2 separate regions of the Homo sapiens genome follow, and region 2 is linked to region 1. Evidence: promoter capture Hi-C in human tissues and cell types (Jung and others, 2019). All regions are on one chromosome and are shown on one strand. The core of a region is centred on a gene start or on the middle of the fragment in contact, and the rest is flanking DNA. Distances in the headings are between cores, read along the strand shown.

Region 1 (7,704 bases), core at 3,116-5,615:
ACTTTTACCCTGATTTTATATAATACTAGCATGGCACAACATATAATAGCATTTAATTATACCCATGGTATATGAAGAAATTGAAAACATATTAATATTCACAATTCCATTTCAGAATTAGAGTCGAAGAGGACTTCATTAAAAGGGTTTTGCAGGCCGGGCATGGTGGCTCACATCTGTAATCCCAACACTTCGGGAAGCCAAGGTAGGCAGATCATGAGGTCAGGAGATTGAGACCATCCTGGCTCATATGGTGAAACCCCGTCTCTACTAAAAATACAAAAAATTAGCCGGGCATGGTGGCACGCACCTGTAGACCCAGCTACTTGGGAGGCTGAGGCAGGAGAATCGATTGAACCCGGGAGGCAGAGGTTGCAGTGAGCAGAGACTGCCGTGAGCGGAGATCGTGCCACTGCACTCCAGCCTGGGCAACAGAGTCAGACTCCATCTCAAAAAAAAAAAATTAAAATAGGGGGGTTTTGCTGATACAAATACACCTGGCAACATTCCTCATTCCTGATTTGTATTAGTACCTGGAATGCCCACCGCAGGCCAAAAATACATTCCTAATCCTGGAACACTACAGAGTGAAAGACTACTTTAAAACGGCTTAGAACAGTCATTTATGTTGAATGAAATAACAAACATATATAATGTGCCAGGCATATATGTTCAATAAAACTAATTTCTTACTCTTTTCTCTTGGTTTTATATATATATGTATATATACACACACATACACATGTATCCTTAAAATAGATACACTTACACATAAGGAGATATATATAAGTATATACACTATATGTATATCTAGTCAGTGAGAATGACTTAGCTTGCACCTCATAAAAAGTTTCTTTTGAAAGCAGTAAACTTAGAGAAAATGGTATTAGCACATTCAGATAAAATCATATACTGAAGTTAAGGACACAGGGTTCTGGGAAAAGCCAGTGTTCCAAGTCCCAAACTTTGCTTCCAAAAGCAGGTTCTGGATGTTATGCCAATTTGCTTAAAAAAAAAAAAAGAAAAGAAAGAAAAACAGTCAAAGAGTAACAAGAACCAAAAACAAAGTCACATGCAATGAATATCTTTCATAGTATAACTGTCAGCCCTCCTCTGCTTCCCACAACTCTGCAAAATGTGAAATACAGCCTTGGGAGTGAGTCATTAACTAATTTAGCATCATCTCTTTTGCCAAGGGGCAGATTAACTGCTACCCCAAAATAAACAGGGAAATGGAGAGTCAGCTAAGTCCCACGGGGAATCCAAAATTGTAACTATATTAGCTAACATTTATCCCAGAATTAAATGCATTCACAGATGTGTTTAGAAAAAATTCCCAGGGCTGGGCATGGTGGCACAGGCCTTGTAATCCCAGCATTTTGGGAGGCCAAGTTCAAGACTAGCGTGGGCAACATGGTGAGACCCCATCTCTACTAAAAGTTAAAAAAAAAAAAAATTAGCCAGGCATGGTGGTATGCTCCTGTGGTCCCAGTTACTCACAAGCTGAGGTGGGAGGATCACTTGAGCCCAGGAGGTCAAGGCTGCAGTAAGCCGTGATTGCAGCACTGCACTCCAACCTGACCTAGGGAGAGATTCCCCTGCCAAAAAAGAAAAAAAAAAAGGAAAGAAAAAAATCCCATTAAGATAGGTAATCAACAGAATAGGAAGAAGTCAAGAGGACTGTTCAAATAAAATCCAAAACTGTGGCTCATGCCTGTAATCCCTGCATTTTGGGAGGTCAAGGTGGGTGGATCATTTGAGGTCAGGAGGTCGAGACCAGCCTGGCCAACATGGTGAAACCCTGTCTCTACTAAAAATACAAAAATTAGCAGGGCATGGTGGTGTGCGCCTATAGTCCCAGCTGTTTGGGAGGCTGAGGTAGGAGAACAGCTTGAACCCAGGAGGCAGAGGTTGCAGTGAGCCAAGATTGCACCATTGCACTCCAGCCTGGGCAACAAAGTAAGACTCCGTCTCAAAAAATAAAATAAAATTCAAAACTAAAATCCAAGTGAGTAGCATCTTCACTTTCCTTTTAATTCAATAGCTTACAGTACTGTAATTTTCCATGAGAAATTAGTATCAGGACATTTTACAATTCATAATCAAGTGATTTAGGGAAGAGTTGTTATCAATTATTAATGGGAAAAATAATGAGTGAAGGAAGACATAATGGAGAAAGGAACAAACATCTATTAAACACTAGGTGTTTTGCTTACACTTTAACATATATTACTCTGTTACCTTGGGACTATTATAATAACACTGTAATACAGAAGATGAAACTGAGGATAGTAGAAACAAGATTCAAAGGCAAACTTCTGCCTCTAAAGTCCATTGACTTCCTAATCCCACTGTCTCCTAGGCTACTATTTCTCCAACCATAGGTTTATGTTCCTGAAACTCTCATACCATCCAACAAAGAAAAAAAAAAAAAGAATGCAGACTCATATTTTTAAAAGGATACAACTTTTTAAAAATAAGCAGTATTTAAAAATAAACAGTATTTTAAAAAATAAGCAGCAGTAAGAAAGCAATATGTGGGAATTGTAAATAGCAAATGTGCAGTACAGATAATATGGATTGCTTTCAGAGATGTGGATGAAGCTTACTTGTTCTTTCAGAAAGGTAGTGAAAAGAGCATTTGTTATTGGAGAGTGTAGACAAACTGGCCCAGTTCTTTAGGTAATGAATGAGAGCATCTTTATAAATCTCTTTTGGACCATGGAAGCCTAGGAAAGGTCTGGTCCACAGTCACATGAGGCCAGCACTCAGGAAGAGGGAGAAGGGGAGAAAACACACAGTAACGAAACATGGGGGAGGTCAAGAGTCAGACCAGGGAAAACCCTGAAAGTCCCCTCCCACGTTTTCCTTCAAGAACTCATTGCTCCAACAAGCAGCGCCTTTGAAATATTTCTAACAGCATTTCCGCACTGACTGGAAATTACACGCGTGTTCTGCCCCTTGTCAGGAACATGAGCTCCATTAAGAACAGTTTTTCTCATCTTTGAATTCGCACAGCTTGGCATAGTGTCTGGTACACAGTGAACGTTAGATGAAAAAAAGAAGGGGCTGATGTTGTAAGGTGCAGGGCTCTAACAATGCCAACAATGCCAGCGCTCTAATGACCGACCAAATCACCTTCCCAAGGAAACCCAAAAATGCAAACAGAGCTTTTCCTTTCCTCCTCCCCTGTATATTTTTCCCAATTTTGTTATTGTGGTAAAATTCACATAACATAAACCTTATCAACTTTTTTTTTTTTTTTTTTTTTTGAGACAGGGTCTCGCTCTGTCGCCCAGACTGGAGGGCAGTGGTGCAATCACGGCTCACTGCAGCCTCGAACTCCTGGGCTCAAGCGATTCTCGTGCCTCAGCCTCGGCGCGTGTCACCACGCCCGGCCCATCTTAACCATTTTTAAGTGCAGTTCAGTGGTATTAAATACGTTCATATGTTGTGCAACCATCACCACCATCCATCTTCAGAACTCTTCATCTTGTAAAACTGAAATTCTGCAAGTACCGCTGAAATATGGGTACTTGTCACTCTCCATTCCCCCTTTCCCTAAGGCCCTGGGAGCCTCCCGGATGTTTGCCACCTCTATGTACGCAGCCCGGCACTGACAGGCTCTGGTGGGCTGCAGCCAAAGCTAGGGTGCCCAGAGTCCGTTCATGTTCCTGGCAGAGCGGAGGCAGCGCGGGCCACTCCCACCGGCGGAGGGAGGAGGGCGGCGCGGGGACCCCGAGCAAGTCGGCTCCGCGATTTCATCAGCTGCAGCAGCGCCCTCCGCCGCTAGGGTCCCCGCAAGGACAACTCGCCGAGGGCTGCTCTTTTGGAACCCTCGCCTGTTCTCCCCCAGACGACTCTCAGCATCCCAGCCAGAGGCGGCCGGCGCTGTCGGAAGGCTCCGCGTAAACTGATGCCTTCGCGTTCCGCACGCCACCCCCGTCCCGCCCGCCGACTGGCCACGGGCCCCGGCGACGCCCCGAGTCGCAGGAGAGCGGCTCCCTCCGAAAGGCGGGCTTCGGGTACCAGCCCTCCGCGCCGAGGAAGCGCCCCAGTCGAGAGCTGCGGCGGCGCTCGGTGCCACGTCGCCCCGCCACACCCCTCAGCGGCCACCACCGCCGGGGCGGAGATGTTCGGGAAGGACTTCCCTCGGTGTCCCTCGGGGGCCCGGCGTGCCCCTCGCCCTCCGTTCCCCTCAGCTTTCCGCGCTGACCGAGCTCTGTGACCCTCTTACCGAACTGCCGCGAGGTGGAAAGGGCGAAGGCGAAGGGAGCAGCTGTGCGCGGGCTGCAGCAGCCGGGCAGCCAAAGCAGACATTAGAGAAGTCGCAGCCATAGACCGCGCCGGTGACTGCGCCGGGAGGGAAGCGCGCGCGCGGGCCACGCGGTTATACTGCGGCCTCGTGGCAGGCCCCGCCTCCCTCCGCCACCCATTGGTCCCTGCCGCATGCCACTGGCTGTCTGTTGAGCCAGGTGGAGCCGAAGGGGCCAACCGGTTTTCTTTATTAAACGTAAGCGAAGTCCGAAAGAGCCCTGCTTTTGATTGGAGCCAGAAGAGCCTGGAGCGAGGTCCTGTAAGGCGCTGAAGCCTCGGCAACGTGCCATGATAGGCTGAGGAAGTCAAACTCCTGCCTGACGCCGCTAGTGTCACCGAAGGCCGGACAACACAAGAGAAAAGTTCATTCATTCATTCGTTGAACAATTATATGAGCGCCTACTGTGTGCCAAGCACTGTAAAGGGTGGATGAAAAGACAAGCTGATAGAATGCCAACGAACAGAAGTAAAAGGAATGATGGAGTTAGAAAATCACCATTTTCCAAAATCAGTACATGGTGGCGCGTGACTACAGTACCAGCTACTGGGGAGGCTGAGGTGGAAGGATCACCTGAGTTCAGGAGGTTGAGGCTGCAGTGAGCTGAAGGCGCGCCACTGCACTCCAGCCTGGGCGACGAGAGTGAGACCATATCTCAAAACAACAACAAAAAAAGTAAAATCATAAAAGATATTCAGAGACAGACGTCAGGGTTGCATGTGCAACCCTGATTCAGAAGCAGCAATAGATGTCAAAACAACTGGGTGAAAGTTGGATGAGGAGCAAGATATTTACATATAGGGTTGCCAGATCTAGCAAATAAAAACACAAGATGCCCAATCAAATCAGAATTTTAGATAAACACTTTGGGAGGTCATATTTATACTTTATTTATGGCTTATCTGGAATTCAGATTCAACTGGGCTTCCTGTATTTTTTCCCGCAAACTTTTTGCATAGTCTCAAAGTATCTCTCCCGCAAGGAAACTTAAGGAGGGCAGGGCGCGGTGGCTCACTTCTGTAATCCCCAGCTCTTTGGGAGGCCAAGGCGGACGGATCACCTGAGGCCAGGAGTTCGAGACCAGCCTGGCCAATGTGTTGAAACCCCCGTCTCTACTAAAAACACAAAAAATTATCTGAGCATCGTGGCGGACGCTGTAATCCCAGCTACTGGGGAGACTGAGGCATGAGAATCGCTTGAATCTGGGAGGCAGAGGTTGCAGGGAGCCGAGACTGTGCCACTGCACTTCAGCCTGGGCAACAAAAAGACTCTGTCTCAAAAAACAAAACAAACAAACAAAGAACAGGGGAAACCAATCCTGTCAACACCTTGACCTTTACTTCTAGCCTCCAGGAAGGAAAGGAAAATGGTAAATTTACAGTGAAGAAACATGACAGTTACTGCTTCAACCACGTGATCAAAGTTAGCACCACCCAGTAAGGGAACACACATATATGCCTTCTGATAGGATCCATTGAGGAGACACATCACTTCGTAGCTCTTAACAAGTCTGTAAATTTAATAAGGTGATTTTCCTAAACCAATGAGTCTCCTAAAAACGGTTACAGATTCCTCATTTCACATTGAGAAGAAAGATCACAGACCTAGAATGTTAAAACTGTCCAGGAAAAAAAACAGTTGTAAAGCTTTGGAACACACTAGTAGATCTTAATCTATTCACAAGGAAATATCAGACAAGCCCAAAGTGAGAGATATTCTACAAGATAAATTGCTTGTACTCTTGACAGCTCCAAGGCCATGAAAGACAAAGAATGAGAAACTGTTCTCCATTAAAGGAGCCTAGGCATGACAGCTAAATGCTGTTTGATTCTGGATTGGATTCTGGACCCAAAACTTTTTGTCTTTCTTTTTTTCTCTTTCTTGCTTCTTTTTTTCTCTCTTTTGCTATAGATGACATTATAGGACAATTGGCAAAATATGAATAAAGTCTGCAACTAGCTAATAGCATTTTATCAGTGTTAGCTAATCGCATGCAGTAATGTAAGAGAATATATTGCACTTGCTTCTAGTACTAAAGGACCATGTCTGTAACTTACTTTTGAATAGTTCAGAAAAAAATAATGCTTTGTATGTATAAGTTGGCTAGGGCTGCCATAACAAAATAACACAGACTGAGTCATTTAAACAACAGAAATGGGCTGAGTGCAGTGGCTCACGCCTGTAATCCCAGCACTTTGGGAGGCTGAGGCAGGCGGATCACCTCAGATCAGGATTTTGAGACCACCCTGGCCAACATGGTGAAACCCTGTCTCTACTAAAAATATAAAAATTAGCCAGGCATGGTTTCACATGCCTGTAATCCCAGCTACTTGAGAGACTGAGGCAGGAGAATTGCTAGAATCCAGGAGGCCGACGTTGCAGTGAGCCGAGATCGCACCACTGCACTTTAGCCTGGGCAACAGTGAGACTCGATCTAAAAAAAAAAAAAAAAGAAAGAAATGTATTTTCTAACAGTTCTGGGGGCTAGAAGCGAAGGTCAAGGTGTTGGCAGGATTGGTTTCTCCTGAGGCTTGCAGTCCTTGGCTTACAGAGGGCTGCATGCCTGCTGTGTTATGGCCTTTTCTGTGTGTGCACATGCAACCCTGACGTCTCTCTCTGAATATCTTTTATTATTTTACTTTTTTTGTTGTTGTTTTGAGACATGGTCTCACTCTCGTCGCCCAGGCTGGAGTGCAATGGTGCGCCTTCAGCTCACTACAGCCTCAACCTCCTGGATTCAGGTGATCCTTCCACCTCAGCCTCCCCAGCAGCTGGTACTGTAGTCATGCGCCACCACATCAGCCTAATTTTTTGTATTTTTAGTACAGACCGGGCTTCGCCATGTTGCCCAAGTAAGCCTTGAACTCTTGGGCTCAAGGAATTCACCTGTCTTGGCCTCCCAAAGTGCTGGGATTATAAGCATGAGCCACCATGCCCGGCCTCTCCGAATGTCTTAATCTCCTCTTATAAAGAAACCAATCAGATTAATTTAGAGCCTACCCTAACAGCCCCATTTTAACCATTTTAATCATTGTTTTAAAGGCCTTATTTCCAAATAGAGTCACATTCCAAGGTCAGAGTGTCAACACTGAATTTTGGAGAGGATACAATTCAGTCCATAACAATGTATATACATAAAAAAAAAACCCATAAAACAAGTGGCAAATGTAAAATATTAACAAGTGGGGAAGAGTATACAAGTATTCTTTGAACTTTTCCTGTAACCTTTCTGTATGTCTGAAATAATGTCAAAAATTTTTTAAAAGACCAGTAATTTTTTTTTCTCTTCTTTTCTTTTTCTTTTTTTTTTTTTTTTTGAGATAGAGTCTCACTGTGTCACCCAGGCTGGAATGCAATGGCATGATCTTGGCTCACTGCAACCTCCGCAT
Region 2 (7,704 bases), core at 1,364-3,863, 74 kb before region 1:
CTGTGGGCTCTCCTTCAACCCTGAATGAGGACATGGTGTGCAGGAGGATGGACCCTTCACCAAATGCATGAGCTTGGGAGCAGAGGCCACCCCCATTCCATTCACCACAGCTCCCTCGAATGCCACACCTCTGCCCCATCACCACCAGCTGTGCCACTGCAGTTCATCACTGTCTGGGAAGGAGTGTTTCTCCTGTAATGCCCAAACTGTACTGCATCACCAAAGGCCCTCAGCGGAGGTTCCTAGGCCACCAAAAGGAAAGACTTTCATTCAAAGGGAATCAGTCAGCCATGGGAGGAAGTGGGGTTCATTGCAGAACAATCTAAGACAGAAGGCCCTATCAATCTGATCCTAGTCCTAGACATATCTCATGAGTAGAGATGAAAGATCATCCTAAGTCTATTAAACACTGGAATCACTTAACTAATGATTAACTCATTCTGATTCTATATTCAGCAACTTTTTGGTGATAATTTGGCTTACCCTGTATATCTGCCCATGAGGAGAGAATGCAAAGGCTAGAGGATGAACATAACAAACCCCTATAACGATTGTAAATCTCACTGTAAATTAAATAAATTGGCCTTCAGGTTTATGCATCAGCCTTTGTGATCTTGGTTAGCATTAGACAGTGTCACTGGACCTAATCATCTTTGGGACACTAAAAAGATAAAATTTCTGAGCCTGGACCGGGGTGGGTGCCCCAAGAGGCCTGTGAGGCCTTTCTGGTGCTCATCAGCCCCTTCTGGTAGCTTCTGAACTTCTCCATATGTGTGCTGACCCTTGACCCATGCCTGCCCCCTCAGTCTTTTATACTTTATAATCTTTCAAATTTACTGCCAAGTTTGGTTTATTAACATATACATGGTATGCAAAGTCATAATCCGTTGTAGAAACAACTTGTTGTACTATCTCACATACATATTTTCATGCATGTGATTTTATGTAGCATGAATTAGCCAAATAAATTGTAAGAATGGGCCAGAATTTGCTTAGGTGTTTCTCCCGTTTTTTTGAGACAGAGTCTTGCTCTGTTGCCCAGGCTAGAGTGCAGTGGCACCATCTCAGCTCACTGTAACTTCCGCCTGCTGGGCTCAAGTGATTCTCCTGCCTCAGCCACCTTGGGCAGGCTCCTCATCCTCTAAGGGTCTCAGTCTCCTCACCTGTACAATGAGAATAGTCACAGACCTACCTCGTGAGATAGATTTAAGGATTAGATGAGATAATACATGTTAAGTGCTTAGCATAGTGCTTGGCTGGGAGTAGCTGGGATTACAGGCATGCACAACCACGCCTGGCTAATCTTTGTATTTTTAGTACAGACAGGGTTTTGCCATGTTGGCCAGGCTGGTCTCAAAACTCCTGACCTCAAGGGATCTGCCTGCCTTGGCCTCCCAAAGTGCTGGGATTATAGGCGTGAGCCACCAGGCCCGGCCTCAGGTGTTCCCCTTTTGAAAAATCTTCCTTCCACAGATCATTTTTTAGTGCCTCTGTCAAAGACTGAACCAGGGGAGTATCTGATGATTCCTCAGACATCTCTAGGAAAATTCTTAACGGGCTTCTAAGTGAATTAATACTGGTCTTCAGTATCTGTTGGGAAATTCAGTATCCTGATATGACTCATATGAAGTTAAAAAACTTTGCTGGATATTGAAGGAAAACTTACATTTCTTACTTTTAAGAAATGAATTTGTTGGAGTTACAAAATGTATTACAGGCCTTAGGCAGAAAGCACAAACATGTCTTGATGCTTTGTAACTAATACACAGAAGTCAAGCTTTTGGGTAATGGGGCGGGGTGGGAGAGTTACAGAATAAAGTTGGTGAGGCCACATAGATAGAGTGACCACAGGGATATATACTTTACAAATTTTAGCTGAGTAAACTTCATGAAAGAAACAAATTCACACAAATGTAATTCTTAAAACAAATGTTTGGAGGCAACATAGCCTTAGCATTAAAGGTTACATACATTGGGAGATTACATTTTTTAAATTAGAATGTCCTAGGGGGGATTTTGCAAACAAACTAACCAAGACACTATTTAATTATAATGATATTCAAAATAGTATAGATAGAAGCTTCTCTTCAATCACAATGTTTATGTATATTCTCCAGATTTTACTCTTATCTAACTACACATAATGGGCAGCCTGTTGTTTTATCATCTCAAGGATCTGTGTCTTCCTTTTAAAAAATATTGATGTCTGATTGTCAGTCCCCTGAGATTCTGATGTAATTAGTCTGAGATTCAGCCTGGGTTTTAGAATTTGTAAAAAGCTCCCAGATGATCCTAATGCAGCCATTGAAAACTGCTGATACTTACTCTAGCCCAGCAGGATCAGTGGGAGTTACGAAGTTTCCATCTGAGGAGACAACTAGAATAGAGGTCTCTTGGTTTTCAGCCCTTTCCAGATCCTCCTTGAAGGAGAACCTCCTCTTCTCCCATCCTGTGGTTTGAGCATTGGAAGCCTTGACTGTACCTGGTAGCTAGCGCCATGATGCTTTCTCCTGCTCTTGTTATTAATTGAACAGCAATGTCCTCTAATTATATCTCTGACCGAGTTACTAGGCACAGAAAAGGCCTCAGTTCTGGCCCTGCTTTGTGTGACAGAGAGCTGCTTTCTGTGACAAGTGACATTTCAAGGTTCCTTTTAGCTACATTCCAGTCAGGAGCGGGGCACCTGGTGCCCACCCTGGCATGCAGAGTTGGGGGTCTACACCCAAGCTTGGGCAAAATCCCTAAAAGTTAAAGCTTTGCTGGATAATGAAGGAGAACGTGGAGATTTTCTTTCCACTTGACCTGCTTCCCCAACTCTAATACCCCACTTTTTGAAGCCAACCATGGTACACAGTTCACTTTGCAATGAGTTGTTTGGGATTACACATGAACCTTATTATCAGGCTTTTGCAAGTTTTTAAACTTGGCTTTGACCAGAGGCTTTTTACAGAGGCCATTCCTTTATTCATTCTGGAGAATGTTTAAGGATTTTATTATGGAAAATTCAAATTTATACAAAAGTAGTATATAGCAGAATGAACCCCCACCTGCCCATCACCCAGCTTCAACAGTTAACAGCTAACTCATAGCAATTCTTGTTTCTCTGTCCCCCACCTACTACCCCAGACACACAGACACACATGCTAGGTCAGGTTGACACAAATCCCAGACACCACATCATTCCATCTGTAAATATTTCATTATGTCTCTAAAAGATAAGGCCTCTTTCTTTCTTTTTAGAGATAGGGTCTTTCTCTGTCACTTCAGCTTCATTGCAGTGGTGCGATCACAGCTCACTGCAGCCTCAAACTCCTGGACTTAATCCTCCTACCTCAGCCTCCTGAGTAGCTGGGACTACAGGCATATGCCACCACACCTGGCTAATTATTTTATTTTTTGTATAGTGGAGTCTTGCTTTGTTTCTCAGGCAGGTCTCAAGCAATCCTCCCACCTCAGCCTCCCAGAGCGCTGGGATTACAAGTGTGAGCCACCATGCCCGGCTTCTGAGTATTTTTAAATATACTTAAACAAAATGAGTTTTAAGCTTTTTTTCCCCAGTCATTTCCTCATAGCGAGATCTCACCCAAAGTGATCAGTGAGGTCTTGCTACCCTCAAGCAGAAGGGAGCAAGCATTTAATGCAATTGATCTGGGCAGGAGACCATAAGGGGACACCAGAGAGGAAGAAATGGCACCTGTCTTCAAAAAGCTTAATGTATATTTGGCATTTGTTATATACCAAAACAATCATAAAACATGATTGGCTACAATTAATTATTAATTTAGGCACTGAGCCTGAATTAATTAATTATTTTAGGCTCTGAGCCTAAGAAGTTAGAAACTTTACCTAGGATAGTCTGGAGCACAGAGTTGCCTGGATCCCACCCGTTTTTATTCTGATGTCAACTGGTCTAGGATATGACTGAGACATGAAGATTTTAAAGGCATCTAGGGTATTCTTATATGCAAGCAAGCTTAAGAATCACTGTCCTAGAACAGTGGTTTCTAAAGTGCTTCAGGTTGAGAACCATCCTAGGGTGTTATAGGAGAAATAAGCAGAATAACTGGCAGAGGCTTTGTGGAGGAAGGGGCATTCTCGCTGGGCAGTGGAAAACAGAGAGGAAAGAGGACATTCTACATGATCTCAGAGGTGATCTGCAGACCAGCAGCATGAGCACACCTAGGAGCTTATTAGAAATGTAGAATCTTTGACCTCATTCCAGACCTGCTCAATGAGGATCTGCATTTTGACAAGATCCCCATGCACATTAGAGTTTGAGGCACACTGGTGTAGTAGAATATGTACTGTAAATGGACTTCAGTTATAAAATCAGAGAAACTAAAGCATAGCATGACTGTGCTAGAAAGGAGACCCTTTCAGCTAGTGTTCTTGGAGCCATTCTAAGGGAAAGAGGCCATGTCCTGCTGTATAATGAGAATCAGATCCATGTGAGCTACGTTTGCCTGCGTTGGGACCCCATATAAGTTGAACTATCCCTAAGTCACACCATTCTATGTACCTACAGAGCAGGGGCTCCTGAACCCACAGGGTGCAGTCAGATAACCCGGGAGTTTCCATGGCAGGGTCACCCTCCTGGTGGGGTAACCATCCAGGCATTGGTTTTTGTTTTGTTTTGTTTTGTTTTGAGACGGAGTCTCGCTCTGTCATCCAGGTTGGAGTGCAGTGGCATGATCTCTGCTCACTGCAAGCTCCGCCTCCCGGGTTCACGCCATTCTCCTGCCTCAGCCTCCTGAGTAGCTGGGACTACAAGCGCCTGCCACCACGCCTGGCTAATTTTTTGTATTTTTAGTAGAGACAGGGTTTCACCATGTTAGCCAGGATGGTCTCGATCTCCTGACCTCGTGATCCGCCTGCCTCTGCCTCCCAAAGTGCTGGGATTACAGGCATGAGCCACCGCGCCCAGCCCCAGGCATTGGTATTTTTATAAATCTCTCCAAGTTATTCTAATGGACAGCCAAGGTTGAAAACCATTGCTATGGATCTTTGGTCCTCCATGTTTCCTTTTCCATTCAAGGTGAAAGTGAGCTAAATTTCTAGCTGTAGCCATTGAAAACACAAAATTAAGTTCCAGGTAGCAAGCTTAATGGTTCAACATCTGGATTCCCAAAATAGTTATAGAGGGGACTAGAGCGGTGTCCCTAGTTAAATGGTCTCATATTCCGGAATTTCTTAAATCAAATTTTCTGGATTCTGGTAGCAGAGTCTAGTTCTGGCATTGGCTTAAAATTGGAGACAAGTAATTTAGTGTTTATGCAGGCTATTCTCATGTGGGTTATCGCCCTTGTCTGTGTGTCTATGGGGTTAATGTTTGGTGTATGCCTAACACAGTACAAATAGTTGAAGTCCTGAGAGGTGGAGAGGACTGCATGTCTTTGCTATCTGCTATCTGGAGTTAGTAGAGGATGTTTCAAAGAGGAAGCATTGCTCTTATCACTCCTTCAGGTGGAGTTGCATTTGTATGGGCAGAAGACTGAAGAATGGGATGTCAGGGGAGAGAGCTGCCTGAGACTGTCTGGCCTAGGATGTTTGTGAGACAGTGAAGACAGCAACCCACTCAACTGGCCCCATGCACTGGGCCACATCACACCTTTAGGTGGGTGGGTAAGACCATGGAGTAGCAAAAGAGTCTTTGGGAGCAGGGTGACAGTTCAGTTTATCTTTTGTATTATTTTTGAGAAAAAAAAAACAATAAAAGGCAAGCTGAATAGGAGGTCGATCCTCAGGAAGAAAAGTTGAGCATCCTCTCAACTAAAACATTTGGACTGGCCGGGCGCGGTGGCTCACGCCTGTAATCCCAGCACTTTTAGAGGCGGAGGTGGGTGGACCACCTGAGGTCAGGAATTTGAGACCAGCCTGACCAACATAATGAAACCCTGTCTCTACTAAAAAACAAACAAACAAACAAACAAACAAACAAAAAACAAACAGCCGGGCCTGGTGGCAGGCACCTGTAATCCCAGCTACTCAGGAGGCTGAAACAGGAGATCACTTGAACCACGGAGGCAGAGGTTGCAGTGAGCCAAGCTTGCACCATTGCACTCCAGCCTGGGCGATGAGAGTGAAACTCCGTCTCAAAAAAAAAAAAATTTTGAACTTATCCTTTGGTCTATTCCTTGTAAACTCTTATGTTAATATACCTTTTAGAAACATCTTACTTTCGATATCACATAGTCTTGGATCTGCCATAATTTAAATGATATTTCCCAAACAGATTTCTCCACAAAAAGGTCAGCTACAACTTGTCTGCCTGGTCTCTGGCTCCAGCCCCCATGTTTCAGGTCTTCACCTCCCAGTCCTTCTCTAATTAGATCTCCCCATTCTGTGTCCATCTGATTCCCCAGGATCCCACCAGGTGCCTGGTTAACTTGTCTCAAATAAATGTATGGAATGAAGGTGTTAAACATAGATAATGCAAAATATACAGTTACGTGAAGAGGAAATCTGATGAAGGAAAAGATGTTCAATCTCACTAGTAATCAGAAGAGTGCAAATGTGAGATAATTTTTCAACTACCAAATGAACAAAGGTGAAAAAGAATGAAAATACCAAAGTCTGGGAGACTTTAGGGAAATGTAAGATCTCATTGGTGGCAGTGGGCACTGACATAAGCTTTCTGGAAAACAGTTTGGTAATGCTTGTTATAAATGTAAAAATGTGCAGACACAGTAATTCCACTTCTGAGAGTTTATCCTAAAGAAATTGTGGAGCAGGAACCAAGGATGTTCCAACCAGCCTTAATTAATAATAAAGAATAATTAGAAATAATCTGAATGTCTACCAGTTGAGAACTGTTCCTATCAATTATGGTACATTCAGACAGTGGAATACTAGAAGGACTTCAGAATGATGTTAATACTAATAGAGATGAAAGGATGTCCATTAGATACTATACCCTTAAGGTCCTTGTGGTGCCATTAATGTACAGTTAATGCAAACACAGGCATATGTGCATGCATGCACGAGGAGATCTAGAATGGCAGTTACCAAAATATCAACCATCAAGACATCAGCATGATGCCTCCTGGTTGGAGGAGCTTTGAATGACTTTGCTTTCTTCTTTTTTTATTGTTCCTAAAATTACAAAAGTAATATTCTTTATTTTTAACTTAATAGCTAACATTAACAGAGTGTATCTTGTGTGCTAGGCACTGCTCTAATTGCTGTACATTATTATTATTACTGAAGAAATCAAAGGTGATGAGAGATTAAGTAACTTACTCGAGATTTTCAGCTAGTAAATGATGGAGCTGTTATTCAAAACCTAATAGTGTTGCTTCATAGACTGTGCTCTTTTTTAAAAAAAAAAAAAATGTAGACGGACTCTCACTCTGTTACCCAGGCTGGAGTGCAGTGGTGCCATCTCGGCTCACTGCAACCTCTGCCTTCCAGGCTCAAGTGATCCTCCCAAGAAGCTGGGACCACAGCTGTGTGCCACCATGCCCAGCTAATTTTTTGGGTTTTTTGGTAGAGTCAGGGTTTCACCATGTTGCCCAGGCTGGTCTCAAACTCCTGAGCACAGGCGATCCACCCACCTGGGCCTCCCAAAGTGCTGGAATCACAGGCGTGAGCCACCTCACCCAGCCTAACCAGACTGCACTCTTGCTACACTAATTCGCCCCAATAAAGTGAAAGTCTTAAATCCCGCCCCAACAACAATCCTACTCCTCTGCTCAAAGTAATCAT

What was found. Contacts are between HindIII fragments. The study calls those that stand out against the background at their distance.
Region 2: a contact is called between a fragment that was not itself captured here and the fragment with the promoter of MTHFD2 in region 1, in 2 of the 25 tissues and cell types used here (adrenal gland and mesenchymal stem cells).

The regions. Positions count from the first base shown.
Region 1 is chr2:74,195,276-74,202,979 of GRCh38, reverse strand. MTHFD2 (methylenetetrahydrofolate dehydrogenase (NADP+ dependent) 2, methenyltetrahydrofolate cyclohydrolase) reads right to left here and starts at 4,365. Exons shown (of 8, transcript NM_006636.4): 1 at 4,238-4,365. The coding sequence starts at 4,338. RefSeq lists silencers at 3,607-3,696, 3,827-4,106, 4,297-4,436 and an enhancer at 4,145-4,703. The HindIII fragment of the contact is 7,235 bases long and covers 1,059-7,704 here.
Region 2 is chr2:74,267,614-74,275,317 of GRCh38, reverse strand. All of the region lies in intron 8 of SLC4A5 (solute carrier family 4 member 5), which reads left to right. Among named protein-coding and RNA genes, the nearest start is that of SLC4A5, 72 kb to the left of the region's middle. The HindIII fragment of the contact is 3,848 bases long and covers 690-4,537 here.